Regions from separate parts of the Homo sapiens genome. Here region 1 is linked to region 2. Evidence: promoter capture Hi-C in human tissues and cell types (Jung and others, 2019). All regions are on one chromosome and are shown on one strand. The core of a region is centred on a gene start or on the middle of the fragment in contact, and the rest is flanking DNA. Distances in the headings are between cores, read along the strand shown.

Evidence for each region. Contacts are between HindIII fragments. The study calls those that stand out against the background at their distance.
Region 1: a fragment that was not itself captured here is called in contact with the fragment with the promoter of PRR16 in region 2 in 1 of the 25 tissues and cell types used here (dorsolateral prefrontal cortex).

Annotation. Positions count from the first base shown.
Region 1 is chr5:119,535,837-119,538,536 of GRCh38, reverse strand. HSD17B4 (hydroxysteroid 17-beta dehydrogenase 4) reads right to left here. Exons shown (of 24, transcript NM_000414.4): 23 at 1,987-2,114. Among named protein-coding and RNA genes, the nearest start is that of HSD17B4, 85 kb to the right of the region's middle. RefSeq lists an enhancer at 331-410. The HindIII fragment of the contact is 7,083 bases long and covers 1-2,700 here.
Region 2 is chr5:120,462,999-120,465,698 of GRCh38, reverse strand. It overlaps PRR16 (proline rich 16), which reads right to left and starts at 1,399. Exons shown (of 2, transcript NM_001300783.2): 1 at 1,054-1,399. The coding sequence starts at 1,212. RefSeq lists an enhancer at 524-1,025 and a silencer at 1,431-1,480. The HindIII fragment of the contact is 4,324 bases long and covers 1-2,700 here.

The DNA.
Region 1 (2,700 bases), core at 104-2,603, 930 kb after region 2:
TTTTTATCAAATGGGATGATAAATATGAACCAGTAATTAATGAAAGTAGTAGAAATGACTAACATACATAAATAATCTAATCTGATTTACATTTTTAAAGGATTACTCTGGCTCCTGGGTGGAGAACAACAGACTGAATGGGAGAGACAAGACTGGAAGAAGTAAGACAGGTGAGAGATGACAGAGGCTAGGATCACAGTGATATCCCTAGAGAGGAAGAGAAGATGAATTCAAGATATATTTTGGAGAAAGATCAGACAGAAGTAAGGAAGGAAAGGATACAGAAGGGCAGAAGGAATCTAAGATAATTTTTACATTTCTGGGCTTATTAATTTGGGTAAATAGATGATGGTGCCACTAATTAAGAAGGAAGAGACTGGGGGAGAAAAATAAATCACAAGTTCTATTTTGGTCACAGTAAGTTTGACATGCCAGAAAGTTTCCCATCAGAGTGGTCAAGTAGAGGGATGGTTCTCTCACTGTGGAGCTCAGAGAAGACTAAGTGGAGCCAAGTTCCTCGCACGGCAGGCCTTTGTATTAGTTGTTTCCTTAGTCTGATGACTCATTCTGATACTCTGTTCAAATCTCTGTCAGGCATTTCAGGTACCTTAGAAAACCCCAGAAGGTATTTTAAACAACCTATTTAAAATAGTTCCCCTGTCCTGTCACATTCTAACTCAAGGGTTGGCAAACAACAGCTGGAGAACCAGATCTAGTGGCTGTGTGTTTCTGTAAATAAAGTTTTATTGGAACACAGTCACACTCCATTGTTTACATATTCTCTATGGCTACTTTAAGGCTACAATGGCAAAGCTGAAGAGCTGCAACAGAGACCATCTTGCCCACAAAGCCTAAAATATTTACTGTGTAACCCTTTACAGAAAAAGTTTGCCAGTCATTGCTCTAACACTATACTCAGGCTTACTCTTCTCTAACTTGAGATTTTATTTCTTTTGCATTAGTACACTAAAAGAAGCTCCATACAGTAGGGTTTTGTCTTAATTCAGCCAATACCTACAACCTGAATAGGTACTAAATAAATTCCTGGAAAGAAATTAACAGAGGGTTCACTGCATTGCCAAGCACTGTACTAAGCTCTTCATACATATTATTGGGTTTAGTTCTTATAATAAGCCTTGTAAACATTAAAATTATTAAACTCATTTTACAAATGAGAAAATTAAGGTTTTTGGATGAAGTGACAGGGGCAAGATTCAAATTTAGATTTTATCTGATGCCAAAGACTACTTTTTACCTACTATACTACTTTACAATTCCTTTTAGTCTTTCTATACAGGAAAATCATATATTTCCTCATTTATTCAAATTACTCCTATGTGAAAGCTATTTTTAAATAACTGCACTCAGCCATTTGTTTGAACTCCTTCATTCTAAGAATCAATAAGTTAGTTCCCTTGGAATTTCTAGCTACATAATCACAAATTGAAAATAACAAATTTTTCTCCTCCATTCTAATTGCCACATCAATTACTTTAATTTTGTATATTTGTGGATTGGTCAAAAGTTTCATAATAATATTAACTAAATAATCGTCACAGAAGGCACTCTTCTGTTAATCATGATTTTCCACTGAAATGCCTCTAAGATTCACCCTAAGTAAGACATGGGCTATTAGGTTAAAATATCCTTCTAGTTCCAATATTCAATGATTTCTTAATCTTATTTATTGGGAATGTCTAATTTTATGTAGTACCTACTAATGTCATATGGTTTTTCACCTTTGAACACATAACAGAATATATTAAAAAATCTAGATGTGGGTTCAGTCTTAAAAAGTGTCAGGTGAAACTCCATTAAAAAAGAAATATATGACCTGTCAACCAGAGTATCAGTAGCAACTGTGTCATCTTCAGAGTTGTAAGAAACCTGGCTTATAAATCAGAATTTGGGCATCAGCTTAAAAACTGCAATTGTCAAAAGAGGAAACAATAAAACAATGAATAAATGAACATTTGAGAACATTACCTTCTGAGGGTCAAGCTTGCCCAGGACCACCTCCATGAAATCTTCATCTGAAAGTATGATTGTTGTATCAGCAGCACCTTTTGCAGGGCCTTGGTACACTTTTCCAGAACCACTTTTCAGGTCAATAGCTGGGAAAAATAGGAAGAAACCAATGTGTATCTTTTTCTCTCCAACAAAATGAGGGTAAAATAAACCAAGTAAAATGCAGACATTTCTATAGTTTCCATGTTAATGTGGCACTTATTCTACACATATTCTATCTATCAATTATACATTATCTGTCATTTAGAAAAAAAGCAAAATATAGAAATACAAGAATACAGAAATTTGAGGTAAAGAAGTGGAACTTCCAGTTCTGTAGTGGCTCAGGTCATGGTCTGCAACCACCACCATCACCTTGAGTTTATAGACACCTATAAGATCACAGCTAATCTTATTTCAGAAGTGAAGAAAGAGATTGTATTCATTTTCTCTTAGTGGCAGAATTCATTACAGGCATCTTACTGTTGATTTTTAGCTCTGTATTTATTAATAACTAAGCTTCTGAAAGAGTCCATAACAATTTCAGTCATACTTCACAGCATTTAATGAGGGAGGGGTGAGGTAACAGATGAGAATATGGCATTTGAAAACTTGGAGACCCCTGAGGATCTTATTAAGATATATACTTTACAAATCACAAAGGGTCACTACAGGAGAAAGAAGGAACTGTTT
Region 2 (2,700 bases), core at 150-2,649:
AGGACCCCATTCAGTAGTGAGCGGCGCGCTGGGACTCTGCTACCAGCTCCGCGACGCCGCCGGCAGCCAGCCTGGCTCGGGAGACCCCACCCCTCCCAGCCCGGCCCCCGCCCCCGCCCGGAGCCGCCGCCTGAGTTACGCAGCCTCAGCCCTGACACCTTCTCTGCTTCTTTCCATCTGGATCACCTGGGGCTAGGGGCGGGCGGGAGTAGGGCTGAACCGAAGTGGGATAGGAAAAGCGGGGAAGAACCGAAGCAGTCCCAGCTGCAGAGAGCCAGGACGCCAATGGCAAGACCCCGGCCACACATACACTCTCCTGCGCGTCCTGCTTCTCGGGTTCAATGCCAAGTGGCGACAGGGTGGAAGGAAGGAAGCAGAGGTAGGGTGGCGGGAAGGCCCAGAGTTACTGGTAACGACGTTCGGAGGAGAGCAGGGGATGCTTCAGAAACTGAGAAAGTGAGAAAGTCCCAGACCCCCTCCTTAGCCCCAAGGCTGCCAGCAGCCCGGGTCGCCTTCCCTACAGCGAGGCTCGAGAGACAGGGAGGGTAGTCTGAGCCAAGCTTCCTCCAGGCTGCCCTCCCTGATCTGGCCCAGGGCCCAGAACCCGGCCCCTCTTCAGCCCTGACTTGGGGAGGCTGACAGATAGGCAGCGGACTTGCCAAAGGACTCTGGGGAAGCAATAGGGCAGGAGAGGAGCATCTTGCACGCTCCAGCCGGGCTGCTCACGACTTCCTCTGCCGACACACCCCCAGCTAACCCTCTCCCCCGTCGTCACACACACAGATTCAGAGACACGCGTGCGTTCATCCCTCCCACCAGCCCAGGTCCATCGATTAAAACACTAGTTGATTTCTTCCTGATTAAAAAAAAAAATTAAAAAGTGCAACAACAACTCCTCTCAGGACTCCAGGAGCAAAGAAAGTCCGTCTGCAGGCGCCTTTTCTGTAGTTTCCCAGGAGTTTGGAAATCTGGCTGTCCCTGCTGAAAATCGGAAAGGGGACCCCGGAGGGGTCGAAGGGTGCCGAACTCCCTCCCCACCCCTGCGCCTCTCACCTCCTTAAGTTCCTTGGCCACGTCCTTCAGGTCGCCCAGGACTAATTCCAAATCCTCCACGATGATCTTGATCTGTTCCTTCACCTTGGTTTTGGAGGCTGCCGGCGGTCCCTCGGCTGGACAGGACGAGGAGGGGTTCCCCTTGGACTTGGCTGACATTCTTTGGGGGCAAGCGAGGCAGGTCAGGACAGGCGGGCGAGCGGAGGCTGCTGCGTGCCCCCGTCCCTGGCGCTGCTACGGCCGCTGCCGCCCCGGTCCCCCCACATCTTGGGCGCTCCCTGGGCAGCGGCGAGTGGCTGCGCTCCGCGCTCGGCCGGGCGGCCGCACAGTGGTGCTGCCATCAACTCCCGAGACGCGGCGCTCGGCTCGGGGCTGCAGACGGGCGAGCAGCGCGCCTGCGCCTCCTCCCGCCGCCGCCCGGCGCTCTCGCGCACACGCGCTCGCTCCCCGCCCGCGGAGAGGGGCGCCGTGCTGCCGCGCCAGGGTTGACGCTTGCAGTCCCCTCGACGTTGCCCTTCGAGATATCTCCCAGATGCCACCTTGGCATCAAGGTGGGGGAGACAAGTCCGTGTCCTGCCCGCCCCCTCCTCTTGGTTCTGAAATGTCCCCATCATCTCAGCCTGCTTGCTGTATGTCATCTCACAACTAGCCTGGATTCTTTCTGCTTCACTTGCTAGCAGGGACCTGGATCAATTCAGAAAGAACCACAGTGGGATCAGGAGTTGGAGACAGTCTGTAAAGTGGCCCTACAGATTTATCCAAACCCAAATGATGTCCAGAGGCCTTTAATCAATCTCTTGGTGACCTGCGAGTTAAGCAGACTTCTTAACTTCTGCAAGAAAAAAGGGGGGGGGGGGTGCACATAACAGCTAATGGTCATCTATTGAAACCATGAAATTCAACCAGTGTTCTTGAAAGAGGTACCCTAATCCTGCTAATTCCACAAAGCTAATACCGGATTTATTAATTTGAAGTCCCCACACCCCAAATCCTCTCTGATTGTCTCAGTCATCTTGGCTGTATGTCTTATTTGGCCCAACTCTTTTTTTTTTTTTTAACTGTCCTTCCTCTTTTTGTGACCTATGCTGATTTACATTTTGAGTGGAGTGGGGGAGACATCGTATTTGGACCTCGTGAAGGAGCTGAGTAAGAGATTGCCTCCAACTTCTCTTTCATCATTTTTTAAACCTCCATTTCAACTCTTTTGCTACTAAACAAATAGGAAACAACTTTCTGACTGTTCTGTCAAAAAGACCCAAGAAGGGAAGTTAATAGGAAGCCTTCGGTTCACTCTCAGTAGGTGTCTACAATTCTCATTAGCTAGAATTTTAACTTCCTTAGTTGTAAACCCATGGGCTATTAGCTACTGACCCAGCAGGCTGGCTCTACTTTATTTTCTTCACTGCACACTCCTCCAGATCATTCTTTTAATAGGCTTCCCCTTTTCGTCGTGCCTTAGCAAGGCTCTCTGTTTCTTGCTTCTCACACTCTGGGTAGCTCCACTGTGCTACACATAAAGAAAAGCTTGGCAGCTCTCCTCTTCCCAGTTCTGTAGGCTCTTAATCAATCACTCTCTTAATCCTGGACAATTCATCTTTACAAAACCTTTGGAAGTCATATGTGGAATATAGAGGAAGAAAGAGAACA